Linked DNA regions of Homo sapiens: region 2 is linked to region 1. The links are contacts of gene promoters, found by promoter capture Hi-C in blood cells and fetal thymus (Javierre and others, 2016). All regions are on one chromosome and are shown on one strand. Each heading gives the region's core, a stretch centred on a gene start or on the middle of the fragment in contact. The rest is flanking DNA. Distances are from core to core; before and after follow the strand shown. Region 1 holds the start of SIK1 (salt inducible kinase 1). Region 2 overlaps LOC124905026 (a long non-coding RNA gene).

Region 1 (6,526 bases), core at 4,027-6,526:
ATAAGGCTGGAAAAGGCAGGACGCCTCATCCTGTTTTAATAAAAAGTGAATAAGAAAACGTCAGCTATGAAGAGCATTTCCGGTGCTTTTTGTTTTCATCTTTACATACTTACTTTCTTGATTTTCTATGGAACCTTTTCTATTAATTTTTATACTTCGAAGAAACCTGCTTTATAAGAGAAGGCCCGGCAGTGGAGGGAGCATTTCATCGTTTTCCCATAGATGCAGCTGAGATGGAGGGAGACCCATCCGGAAGCCGTGGAGAGAGCGTCTCCTCAGCCCGCCCTGAGACGGGGGTCCTCCTCTCTCCCCCATGGTCCGGGCTTGGCTTCTCTGGGCTGTGAGATGCACAAGTGAAACGCTTCAATCTCCAAGGCCAGAGACCTTCCACCCACAGGCCTCACGCTCCTTCCTGCCACCCGCTTCCCATCGCAGCTCCTTGCTCCTCAGCTTGGCTCCAACAGCCCCAAGTCCCTGCCTCCCTTTCCCTGTCATCCTCGCCTGGCCGTGTCAGGCCGTGAAGCCGGGACAGACCACACTGCTCTGTGCACACCCCGGGCAGGCAGGCGCTGGGCAGCAGGTTGCAGATGGATGTGGACGGCGCCAAGGACCCCCACTGGGTCTGTCTTCCCAATCGTGGCCTCTGCTCTTCTTCCCCTCTGCTGAGAGCCTCTGCTCAGCATTCAGAGAGGGAAGGTGTGGGTGGCTGCCTCCTGCCCCATGCCCCCCGCCGGGGCTCCACCTCTTCTCTCTCCTGGAGCAGTTGGTGTTCTCAGGGAAGGTCCTCGCTCAGTCCACGCCTGGCAAATCCCACGGAGAGGCCCGGAAGCAGTTCCCTCCATGGCCACTTTCCTGCCAGCATTCTTTTCTTACTCATCATCTTATGCTGTTACTGTCTCCGCAACTGGAACCAACGGTCCTCGAGAGAAGGTGTCTTGTGTCCCTCCTACTGTGCCCACAACCTTCACGCAGTGCCTGACACACAGCAGGGCCTCTCGAGCCTTTGTGGACATCTGGAGGATGACTCCGAACTCACCCTCGCGTTGCACCGTCTCACCTCTCTCTGGGGACCTGTCCCTTCCCACAGTGAACTTCGAAGCATGTCTGTCTGTCACCATGTTCTGGCACAGTCTGGCCATGCTCACCTGTGTCCACCCGCTGACTCATTGCAGCTGGCACACTTGTTGCAAATGGCAGAAACTCACATTATTTTGCATAAGTAAATAGTAACCAAAAAAAAAAAAGATGGTTTACCATGCTCTACACTAGCAGCCAGCATGTCACCTGGAAACACCGAGACCTGAGCTGACACTCAGACGTCTCCATCTCCCGGGAGCCACGCTCCGTGTGGCCCTGGCAGAGTGCCCAGGATAAAGAGCACGGCCAGCACCTGCTCCAGTCCTGGTCCCCAGTGTCTGCACAAAGCTGCAGCATCCCAGAGGCTTCTGCTCTGCCTCTGGGGACCTTTGCTCCGTTTGCGGATGCGGTTTCCTTCTTCCTACAGAGAGGCAGGTGGTTTACTCCAGCGCTGCCTGCTCAGCACAGGGTGACCTCCTGCCAGGCTGTCCATGGTGCTCTTCCTAAGTGAGCACTCCCCCCCGGGGGAACCCCTGGCTCTGTTTGGGGCCTGGCTGACTCTCGCTGGGGCTGGCCCCTTCCTGCACCCCCCTCCCCCGCCGTCCGACCTCAGCATATGGCTCAGGGACACAGACACCCAAAGGCCTCTTGGGTCCTCAGCCTTGATATCGGCCACAGCCCTGCTTAAATGTCAAGAAAACGCATTGGCCACATGAATAATTCCTCACTAACGGCAGCGACAGAAACCGGAACCAGAAACCCTAGAGGGCTGGAGCGGGGAGGGCCGACTGGCCCGTGAACAGGCACGTTTCTGCTGCTTTGCCGGCCTTCGTGGTCCATTTAAGCAGCCCGTGGAAGGCCTAGCCTGAAAGTGGGTGCTGTCTGAGATGGGGAGGGGCCCTGGGCCCGGTAGGATCCACACAACTGTGGCAGCCACGGAACCACAGGGAGCCAAGTGTAGGAGGTGAAGGAAGCAATGCCCTGGGGGCGGACGCTGGGACTGGGCAGTCTCTGGTTTGACCTGTTCGCGGGGGATTCTTGACTTAACCTGTGGACAACTGGGCCATTCCCTGAGGGTGGAGGGGGCTGGGGGCTTTTCTCCTACCTGCCCTCTTCCCAGGCCAGGGCCGTGGCTTCCTGACCTAGTGCACACATGTCTGTCTGTCAAGCTCTCCAGATACAATGGGGCAAAATGACCAACGTGGCCCCCGGGTCCCTGAGAAGGATGCCGCTGCAGTGGTTAATCTGATTTTCTGGCACCTAAAGCCGCTAGGCTGAAGCCTAAACAAACCAAAACAAAATTTAAAAAGTACAAAACCACCTGAAGCAAAGCCAGGAAGACAGGGAAGGGCCTTAGGCGTCGAAGATGGGAGGGTAGGGTCGGGAAGAGGAACTCGTCTGACTCCTGGCTGCACTGGGAGATTCCTTCCTCACAGAGGGCGGCACTGGGGCCAGCTGGGCACCCATCCCTTTGCAAAAATGCTGCCCCACGCTCCATTCTCTGTGTTTATCAATTGATTTTGAGAGTTTTGTGACATGCCAGTGGCCAGCGTTACAACTATGAATAATAAATGGACCCATTTCCTGTTGGGGTTTCCAGTCTTAAGGCCTAAAAAACAAGATGAACTCCAGAAACACGGCAATCATAAGACAAGCTGAAGAAAGTCCATGTGGAAAGGAAAACTGACTTGCCGTTTTCCACAAATCTGTAATAATATGCAAACCATAATAATAAAGTACCGTTCCTGCAGACTTTGGGAGCATTCCTTCCATTATGTTCAGTGAGGAGCTTCTCCAATCATTTGCTTGTACCATCCTTACACTCACACCATGTGTTTTATTTTTCCTCGTGTTAAAGGCACGGAAGACCAGAAAACAGAAAAGAAATCAAAGCTTCTGAGAGGAAATACAGCCTCGGGGGGTCAAGGACACAAACAACAACAAAAGACATTGGGTAACAGAGACCAGGTTGAAGCACAGACTTAGTTATGAGGGTGCCAGGGGTTCCCCCAGTGGGGAGACGGGACAGCCGTTCCAAGCTTGGCCTTTTCCTCTGTGCTTCCTGCCTTTCTCTGCAGAGCGAGCTCCTTGCCCACGGGCCCAGGGAAGGGAAAACAGGATGGCCATGGTTGGCACAGGGCTGTTCTGGGTTTTGGAAGCTCAGGGCTGGGTCAGGGTGAAAGGTCAAGTGCACCTGAGTTTGGGGACCTGTTCTGCGGAGGCAGTTTTGGCTGCAGTTTTTATTTGGTGCTGATGCAATGTTTCCAAACAGCCAGCCAGGTGTTTGCAAATACCTAAGACCTTTTGGAAGACTCTGGCTAGGGTGGGAGGGGTGGGGAAGCCTGCTTCCTGGATGCGGGGGGCAGTATTTCAAGTCACAGGCTGAGGGACTGAATGGTGAGTGTGATCAGGGGCCTGGTTTCTCCCCCACCCCGCCTTTTATCTTTGTTCTTTTTTGAGACAGGGCCTTGTTCTCTTGCTCAGGCTGGAGTGCAGTGGTGCAATGACAGCTCACTGCAGCCTCAACCTCCCAGGCTCACGCCATCCTCCCACCTCAGGCTCCCAAGTAGCCGGCCCCACAGGCGTGTGCCACCACACCTGGCTATTTTAAAAGTATTTTATAGAGGTGAGGTCTTGCTATGTTAACCAAGCCGGTCTCAAACTCCTGAGCTCAACTGATCCTCCTGCCTCAGCCTCCCAAAGCACTGGGATTACAGGCGGGAGACACGACGTCCAGCCTTGTTTTTGTTTAGTTCTCCTAGGAGCGGATTAACAGGGTGTTGGGACCTCCAAAAGGAAAAAAGGCAGTTGTACACTGTTCAGCTGAAAGGAACTAAAAATATTCCCCCGTATTCTTGGTATATAAACCTGGGACAAAGAAAAACACTCTGAACGATTAAGGAAAACTTTGGGACTCTTCATTTCCTTGAAAGCCTTTGAAAACCAACTGACTCCCAAACAACCCGTGTGTGTGTGTGTGTGTGTGTGTGTGTGTGTGTGTGTGTGGCGATTGGGAAATCTGTGGTCAGACCCTCGGGCGAATGAGGAGAAGCTCATCCTCGTTTCTCCGGGCCCTCCTCCCAGGCGTCCGTCCAGGCAGGAAAGCCTCCCGAGAAGGGTTCCAAGTTTTGTGCCAACTCCCCTGAATTCTCGTTCCCCCTTCTGTGAAGTAGTGTTATTTAACACAAGGAAAACTGACCCTAGGCTCGATCCAGAATCTAACTCCCAAATGGGTCCTCAGGCTTAAAAAATACCTTCGCCCACAGCCTCTGTCTCCCCTGAAGAAAACGTTTTCCGTTCGGATGAGGCATCGGCCACGGGCAAGCAAGTGGTCCCGCGCCCCCGTCCCCTACCCAGGCGGCCGGCCTGGCTCCGTCACCGCCCGCAGCGTCCGCCCGGGGCCCGCGCGGGAAGAGGGTCCCAGCCCCACATGCTGCGGGGGCAGCCCCGGGACGCGCAGACGCCAGCGCCGCTGAGGGCCGGGGCCGGGACCGGCCGCGCGGCGGGGGCTTCCAGAGCGGCCGGTCACGCTTCCTTAGGTTTCAAGTTTCTAACTTGCTGAACATTTCAGATTTTAACAGCAAAAGCGGCTGACGTCCCCGCGGGCAAGCGGCCTCTCGGGGTCTGCAGCGCCCCAGGGCATCCGCGCCGCCAGCCCCACGCGCGAGCCCGCGAGGCCCCCGGGCCCCCGCACGTCCCGAGGCTCTGAGTCTGGACGAACGCAGGCCGCGTGGAGGGGCCGGCGACCCCTGCCCGAGAGCCGTCCCCTCCTGGAGGGAGCGAGCACAAGGCGCCCGCGGGACCCGGCCCGAGTGCCCGAGCGTGGAGGGGCGGGCGCGCCCTCGGCGGTGGGGCCGCCCGCAGTGCCCCCAGCGCCCGGGAGGGGGCGCCCGGCGGAGCGCAGGCGGGCGGGCCTCGGGCGGCGGGCGCCCCTGACGTCACCGGCCCGCGGTCGCCAGGGCAACGGCCTCATCCCGCGCGCGTCAGAGCCGCCAGTCTCTTGGCAACCGCCCGATCTCCCGCTCTCCCTCCGCCCGGCGCTCGGCCGCGCGTCGCTCTGGCGTCAAAGCGACGTCAATGGGCGGCCCCCGCCCGGGCGGCGGGGGCGGGGCAGGGGGCGGGGACTACGGGGGGCGGGCCGGGGCGGGCCGGGGCGGGGCCGGGCGCCGCGTGCGGCGGAGCGCGGCGGCTCCGGGCTGACATGCGGCGCGGCCCCGGAGGCAGCAGCAGCGGCGGCGGCAGCCGGAGCAGTAGGCACCCGAGCAGCGCCAGCGGCCGAGCGGGCGGCTTCCTGGCCTGGGCGCTCCGGTGGCGGCGGAGGTGAGGCGGCGGCAGCGGCGGCAGCGGCGGCAGCGGCGGGCTCCGGGCGGGCGGAGGTGGCCGCCGTGGGGGCTCCGCGCGGGCGCCGGGCCGGGGCTCGGGGTTGCAGCCACCGCGCAGGGTCCCTGGCCTTGCGCGCGCGGGGTTCGCGGGCGGGGTTGGCGGCCTGGCCGCCCTCGGGCTCCCCTTTGTTGGGGGGCCGGGGTAGGAGTGAGTCCGCGGGGCTCAGGGGCTGGGGAGCCGGGGGTCAGGTTGGAGCCGACCGCGGGCGGAGATACCGGGTGTGGGGGGCGGGTCCGCGATCCCCGAGGTGCCTGGGATGTCGGGGGTGGGGACCGGACGGATCGCGGGCGGCGGGGGCAGGGTGTGGGAGCGGGGCAGGGGACGGTCCTGGGATCCGGATCGAGCCGACCTCGGGTGGCAGGGCCAGGTGTGGGAGCGGGTCCGCGCCCAGAGGTGCTAAAGGGGTCGAGGGTGGGGACGGAACCGACAGCGGGCGGCGGGAGGCGAGTGTGGAATCCCGGCTCAGGGGGTCCCGGGATCGGGACGGAACCGGACTCGGGCGGCAGGGGCCTCTATGAGAGCGGGTCCGTGCGCCCCGCGGGGCTCAAGAGGGTCGGGGGTCCGGGTGGAGCGGGCGGCGGGGGCGGGTCCACACCTCCCACGGGGCTGGAGGGGCCCGTGGATAGAGTGGGGGCGACAGGCGTGGGAGCAGGTCCCTGCGTCCCGTGGGGACTGGGGGCTCCGCGGGCACGGATGGAGCCGACCGCGGGCGGCGGGGGCGCTGGTGGGCTCTGAGCTCTGTGCGGCCCCGCAGGTGCGCGCGGAGCCATGGTTATCATGTCGGAGTTCAGCGCGGACCCCGCGGGCCAGGGTCAGGGCCAGCAGAAGCCCCTCCGGGTGGGTTTTTACGACATCGAGCGGACCCTGGGCAAAGGCAACTTCGCGGTGGTGAAGCTGGCGCGGCATCGAGTCACCAAAACGCAGGTGCGTGGGGGCGGTGGGACCCAGCCGGCGGGGCCTCCCCACTGGACCCGGGGCGACCCGACCTTTGGCGGGTGGACCCCATGCAGATTCACTGCTCCAGGCTTGATTGTCGTGGTGGGTAAATAGTAACCGTTTTTAGTTC
Region 2 (7,106 bases), core at 297-2,796, 120 kb after region 1:
TCTGGGTGTAGCATGATTTATTTCTCCAGACTCTTATCTGGGCATGTTGGAGCAGTTTCCAGCTTTTGACAACTTGCAGGTAAAGCTGTGTCAGTAGACTTGTGCATATGTTATTTAGCACTTGTGTGCACCTATCTGCAGAGCTGCTGGGTGTGTGCACTCTACGTTTCTATACCTATTTCAAAGAAGGCATCACAAGTTGCTCACACCAGTAATCGGTTAGGAGCCTCTCTCCTACTCCTCACTGACAGAGGGTTCTCATGCTTTTGTCTTTGGCTGTCGGATAGATTAAAAACAGTCTTACATTCTGATTTTAACTTGCATTCTTTCTTTTTTCCCATTAGTGTGTGTATCTTTCCATATGTTTAACAGCCTTCACATTTCTGTTTTGTGAACTGTTTTTGTACTTCGCCCATTTTCTATCACTTTGTTGGTCTTCATTGCATTGATTTCTAGAACTTCTTTATGTATGAACCAAATGAAGCTTTTCCTGTGCCTTGCATTGCAGATACTATTTCATTTCTCACCTGTCTTTGTTTATGGTGGTTGTGTTTTTCACCAGGCAAACATTTTTAACTTTATTATTATTTCTTTTAATCCATGTTTATGGCTTCTGAGTTTGTGTTCTATTTCAGAAGATCTTCTCCTTCTAAAACTAGTAAAGGAAATGGCTCTCTGTTTTCTTCTAGTATGTTTATGGTTTCCAACTTTATAAAAATATCTGCTGTAGCTGTAACATATGGAGGCCTTAGGGAATAAAGTAGAAATGCAATTTTATTTTTTTCTAGAAAACTATTTAGTTGTAATTCAGTTGGTGTCTTCTGAACAACTGGAATTCATCACACTGATAGGCAAAAATCACCTCTCCTATGTCCTAACTAGGTGGGTGTGTTTGGATCCATTTTTGGTTCCTCTGCCTAATTTCTTTGCTGTCCGACTAGGGGGTCCATGTCCCAACTACTGCAATTTTATAGGCTCTATGAATGTGAAGACCTATTTTAAGATATTTCCTAATATCAAACCATCTTCAAGTCTCCTAGGTCATGGCTTACAGTTTTTAGACAATTTAATTCACATTTTTGTGTTGGTGTTCATTCATAAGATTGGCTTATGATTTTCTTTCTGTGCTTGTCTCTTTGGGTTTTGGCATCATTCTTATGGTAGCTTCATAAAGAGAATTTAGAAATTTTCTTTCCTTATTTATGCTTTGCATCCATTTAAATATTATCTGTTCCTTAACAGTGTGGTGGAATGGCCTGTGAAACTATCCGGGCCTGGAGCCATTTGTAGCTTTGTTGTTGTATCAGTTACAGTCCTAGGCATCTATAGCTATGATCAGTGGTATAGCAGGTGTGTAGTGTAATAGGAGGGAACAAGACAATCAGGGAGTGTGATGCCTGTAAAGAATCTAAAAATGATAGTAAAACCAACTATTATTACCACATCTTGCCAATTCTAAACAGTCAGCAAGAGAATACACACCCTTTTAAGAGGACCGACCGCTGGCATATCATGGAAACACACCCTCCTTCCTCCCTAGCAAGGTGGCACAACTCCTGACCCTCTGCCAGTGCGCAGCGCCCGGTTTTGTGGCTGGATTTGCATGCAATTACATTATATTCAAATCACACTAATTTATTCCCCCAGAATGAGAAGATAGAGAATGAGTGTTTTTCATCAAAATTAGTTCTGTGACACTATTAAAAAAAATATAACGGAAACTCCCAAAGAAACCCTAAACCTTCAAAAACTTGTGAAGTATGGCAGCTCCTCAAAACAGTTAAACATCGAATTACCACGTGATCCAGCAATTTCTTCTCTGGGTATATACCCAAAAGAATTGAAAGCAGAGATTCAAAGAGATATTTGTACACCCATGTTCACAGCAGGTTTATTCACAGCAGCCGACAGATGGAAGCCACTCAAGGGCCCATGGACAGAGGCGTGAGCAGGCAAAAGATGGTCTATGCATGCCAAATAGGATCTGGCCTCAGAAAGCAAGGACATCGTGACACACGCCACAGCAAGGACCAACCTTGACAACATGATGCCGAGTGACATCCTGACACACGCCACAACATGGACAGACCTTGAGAACATGATGCTGAGTGACATCCTGACACACACCACAGCAAGGACCGACCTTGAGAACATGATGCTGAGTGAAATAAGCCAGGTACACAGGGACTGACACCGGGTGGTTCCACCTGTATGAGGTCCCTGGCGGAGTCTGGTTCGTAGAGACCGGAGGTGGAACGGTGAGTGCTGGGGACCGAGGAGGGGCATGGGGAGGGAGTGTTCAATGGGGATGGGGTTTCAGTTTGGGAGGATGGAACGTTCTGGGGATGCGTGGTGGTGATGACTGACAACAATGTGGATATGCTTCATGCCACTGAACCGTGCACCTAAAAATGGCTGAAATGGCAAATTTTATCTTATGCATATTTTACCACAGGAAAATAAATAAATAAATAAAACAAAAAGTTCTTTAACTTGTTGAAAGTAGACAGAAAAGTGTTAGAAAAAACTAAACAGAAAAAAAAAAGGAGAGAAGAGATAAGTAAAGTAAAACACCAGCTGCCTGGATCTGCGGCCTGGCCAAGCTTCTCACTTGGAGGCAATCCCTGCAGGCCTCCCTGCCCCTCCCATCCACTCGCCCTCCAAGGAGACCCAGCCAGAGGGGGTCTGGAAAAGCCTCTGGCTTTGCTCACCCGGCCTATGTGACCCACAGTAATTCTGGGTAGGTTTTTCCTTCACCAGGGCAGCACCAAGCTCACACCCTCTTTACCGACCTTTTCCACCAACACAATCTCATCAGATGCTTAATCCTGGTCTTATTTCACAGACGCATGAGTTTCATTCCAGGGTCTCTGGGGTTACTTTGCCCATGAGAAGCCCTGAGAAACGGGGTGCTTTCTGTGTGGGGCATAAGTGTCCCCTGTGGCAAGAGGCCTGGCTGTCCTGGGCGGGGGTCCTTCCGGGCTGGGGTGCCATCCTTCCAGCACATCCTCCTCCTCTACACTCCCTGGGAGGGCCCAGGCTGTCCCCGCCCCATAGGCCTGGCTCCCACTAGCAGGGAAGGCCTCATCTTATCCGCAAAGGGTGGGCCTGGATCAGCAGGAAGCCCACCGTCTCCTCCTGCCTGGCACCCTCCAGAATAAGAGACAAATTACTGACAGAGGTTGCAAGCTGCTCAAAAAATTCACTCTAGAAAAGCAGGGGCTCCGTTCCCCAATCAAAGCCCTGGGGCGGATGTCCATGTTTCTAGAACCTGTAAGGTCATTCTGTGGTGTTAGCCCATGGTGAAAGAGAGTCTAGCTGGGAGGTGTAGAAAGTCTGATACGTGTGTTTCCTTTGTAGGATTTCCTTCCGTCTGGAGGAGGGAGGGGTGATCAGCAGGCACTTAGGGATGATCTCAGCGGTGACGGCTTCGTATTCCAGGGGGCTTCCAGGGGGCTGGTGTTCCTCCGCACTCTGGCCTGTCCAACTCTGAGTCCCAAATTTGGGGCTGGCAGACAGGGTCACCATGGTCGGGGGCTCCTCATTTTTGCCATGGCTGGGTGGGCAAGAGATGTCCACAGGGCTGGGGTGGACAGAGCAGCCATCCTGTGGGTCAGGTTAGACCCCAGGTCCCATTGGTCAGGGACACCCCCTCCTTAGCCCCTTATCCCTTCCTCAACTAAGACATGAGCAGCGTGTGCTCCAGGTGGGGAATTCCCATGCCAGCTGTGTGGGCAGGACGCAGCTGCCAGTGTCACTGTGGCCGGCACCCTTCCCTATTCTCACGCCATTTGCATTCTTGAGTACAGCCAGTTCAGTTTCTGGTCCTGCCCCACCCTGGCAGCCACGATACCCTTGGGCCCTGTGGTATCAGGAGAACCAGCTCCGAGGTGGGTGAGGCTCTGTCTGAGACAGCGAGTCCCAGGGATCCCCAGGGAAGTTACAGGCTTAGGAGAACACTGGGGAGCCGCTGGCCCCAGACACTTGGTGGGGCTGCCCCACCCGCAGCCAGGCTCGGAAAACCTCTCTGTGGTCTCCTGTGTGGAGAGGAGGCGGGGAGCTGGTTAGCCCGAGGCCCAAGAGCCGGGCAGATGCATGACTCAAGGTCACCTTGGGTGTGACTCATGGCCCTGCACTCCCGACTGCCATCACACTTCCAATAATAACCGTACACATCACCAGGCCCTCCTGGGCCGGTGCTGCCCTTGCTTCCTGCGCACCTGCTCATGTCGAAATTGGCTGTCATTGCACCAACTGGAAAGATGAGAAGACCCTTTCCATCCTGGCCCGACTGGGAGCACGTGACACCCGTCTTTAATTCCCCAGGAGTGTGTTTCCATGGATGCACTGCTGTGGGTGATGCTGGGCTGGCCTCGCCCTTTGACAACCAGGCCATCATGGGCGAGGGCAGGCACGCTGCATTAGGGGGTCTCAGGATACTGCTGGAACTCCTTGGGACCTGGAGATTTTGCTGGAAGACCAAGCTGTCACCGCTGGAGATTCAGCAGCCAACCTCATCCTTGGGGTGCCTGATGCTGCCTTCAGGGGCTTCTGGGTGGGGCTGGTGGAGGGAGGAGGGGCGCCTTGTCCTGTATGCCTCTGGATGATGGGGGGTAGCTCCGAGAACAGGCTCACTTCTTCCCCATGCCTGTCCCTCCGGCCACCCCTAAAAAATGCTCTAGGAGACACAGTACGCTTACCCAGGACCGGATCCCAGACCCGCTGGGGGCTGCTTGGGGCTCCCTGGCTTGTGGGGTGCTCTTGGGAGGGCTCCCCTACACGGAGGGCAGCACTCGCTCCATCCACGCTCATGCACACACTGTCAGCCAGTGGAGGAATGAAGGGTGCATGCGTGGCCCCCGGGCTGTGCCTGCCTGGGGGTCCCTTTATGCCTCCACCCCCTGGAGGAGGGAAAGGAAAGGAATTCTCCTCTTCCTTTTCTACTTTGAGAAAAGTCTTAATTCTCTTCCACTGAGCCTCAGGCCCCCGAGGCCCACGAAGTCCCAATGGGCATTCGCACAGTGGGCTCTGGCCAGGTTTGTACTGCTGTACTTTGACAGTTTCCCTGCCCCACCCCCCTCCAGCTGCCCTACGGACTGGACAGGGACCCGGGCACTGCAGGTCCCCACTCCTGGCCTTGCAGTGGTGACTGGGCAGGATCTCTCGGTGTCCGCGTGAGTGGGGACTTCCTTCTCCCCTTGCTGTGGGTGGGCTCACCCATCCCCTCTTCACTTGCTCACAAGGTGGTTCATCTGCACCACTGCAGGGCCCAGGGTGGCTGCATCGCGGCATCTCCTTGGCTCCCCAGCACCGTGGCTGCAAATGTCCTTTGCCCGCAGGAAGATGCAGAGGGGGCAGCCCTGGCGACCTCCCAGACAGCCTGCATTTACGTTCCCAGGGCCTGCCGGTGAGAAACAGCTCCCACAAACCCCCATGGTCACTGGTCGGGGCGGTGCGTCCACATCCTCATGGCCCACCCTTGCACTTCGGCCAAGTCCTGCTCCTAAAGGGAGGGGCTGCCTTGCCATCTGTTACAGGTCCCCTGTGTCCCCCCCAAAAAATATGTGGGTGCCGTGACCCTGGCACCAGCGAACGTGACCTTACTTGAAAATCGGGTCTTTGCAGATGGAAATAGTTAAATTAAGACGAGCTTCCACTAGAATAGGATAAACCCTGACCCGATGTGACTGGTGTCCCCATGAGAAGAGAGACACAGACACACAAGGGAGAGCCACGCGCAGCCGAAGGCCGAGATCAGAGGGGCGCTGTGGCTGCAAGCCCGGGGCCGAGCAGGGCAGGAGGCGAGCTGGGCTCCCTGCCCCAGGCCACGTGATGCTGCAGAGAATGCCACGAAGTCCACTGCGGTGGGAGCTCCAGGTTCCACCTGGCTGCTCTTAGTTTTCAATAGTAAATAATGAAAACCGAGTGCCTCCCAGGGAGCCCGTGCCATGCACCTCCTGGCCCTTATCCAGGTGTCTCTTGGATGCTGCGGGGCCCAAGACCATCGTGTGCTCCTGAGGTCAGGACATGTGGGCACTGGACCCACACGTGGGATTCCACCCTCCACATGCGCTATACCCGGGGAAAGCAGTGGCTCTGTCAGCAGCTGGGTAGCGGGAGCCCCACAATGGCAGGGGCGACCCAGGCGTGTCCGGTGCCACCTGCAGGCTCTCACCACATGGCCCAGCGACCTGGGTGGACCTCCCCGTCACTGCTCCTCAGGAACCCCCATTTCACTCAGCAGCCCATGGGGGAAGCAGGCGGCCACCCTGGGCTTCCAGGGTCAGGGAAGCTCAGTGACAAGGTCCTGACCCCCACCGAACACACAAGCCCTCTGTCTGCCCCTTGGCACATAAGGCCCTCAAAACATGTGTCCTTGATGTTTGCACTAATCACCAACTCCCGGACAAAAACAAATAGAATTGGCGAAGGCACTGGGTTAATTCTGCCCCCAAACAAGCTAAGCAACAGACACACTCAAGCCGGGCAGGCGTCCTGAGGACCCACAGCCACCCCGGACACAGAGGCTCTGCCTGTCTGGACCACGGGGGCTCTGCTGACCCCTCCCGGGGGCAACGGTGTGGCCGGTGATGCCCGGGGCTCTGTGGTCAGAACCATCACGTATTTTCTAAACAGACCCCACAGACCCTCTCAACAGCAGCAAAACGTGCTGATATTTATCTTCCTAAAATACTTGTTCAAAAATATGCATGGGAAAAGTTCTAAACACAGAAATATGCTGCCAGTGCCCTTCAGAAATGGAGTGCCTTCTTCAAAACACCAGGAAGTTCCAGAGGAGACACTGGGGAAACTTTTGCGTGTCCTGTGTGAGTTCACACGTCCTGTGTGAGTTCACCGGGGTGGCCACCACAAAGGACCCCAGCCGGAGGCTCCAGCAGCAGACGCGGATCTTCTCTTGTTCTGGAGGCCGAAATCCAAGGTCAAGGCGTGGCAGGGCCAGTTCCTCTGAGCTCCTCCCCTTGGCTTTCAGGTGACCGTCTTCTCCCCGCGTCCTCATGGGCGCCCCTCTGTGCCTGTCTCTGTCCACCTGTCCTCTCTTTATAAGGACACCAGCCATGCTGAGTTAGGGCCCAACCTCACGCCTC

Evidence for each region. Contacts are between HindIII fragments. The CHiCAGO score rates a contact against its expected background, and 5 or more counts as called.
Region 2: a fragment that was not itself captured here is called in contact with the fragment with the promoter of SIK1 in region 1 in 2 of 17 cell types (naive B cells and total B cells); the score reaches 7.1 in naive B cells.

Annotation. Positions count from the first base shown.
Region 1 is chr21:43,425,881-43,432,406 of GRCh38, reverse strand. SIK1 (salt inducible kinase 1) reads left to right here and starts at 5,276. Exons shown (of 14, transcript NM_173354.5): 1 at 5,276-5,397; 2 at 6,215-6,384. The coding sequence starts at 6,229. LOC124905029 (a long non-coding RNA gene) reads right to left here and starts at 2,823. Exons shown (of 3, transcript XR_007067891.1): 1 at 1-2,823. RefSeq lists a silencer at 1,384-1,678. The HindIII fragment of the contact is 3,848 bases long and covers 3,119-6,526 here.
Region 2 is chr21:43,304,250-43,311,355 of GRCh38, reverse strand. It overlaps LOC124905026 (a long non-coding RNA gene), which reads left to right. Exons shown (of 2, transcript XR_007067887.1): 2 at 1-311. Among named protein-coding and RNA genes, the nearest start is that of LINC00322, 24 kb to the left of the region's middle. RefSeq lists enhancers at 1-322, 2,425-2,930, 3,647-3,746, 3,154-4,353. The HindIII fragment of the contact is 2,119 bases long and covers 487-2,605 here.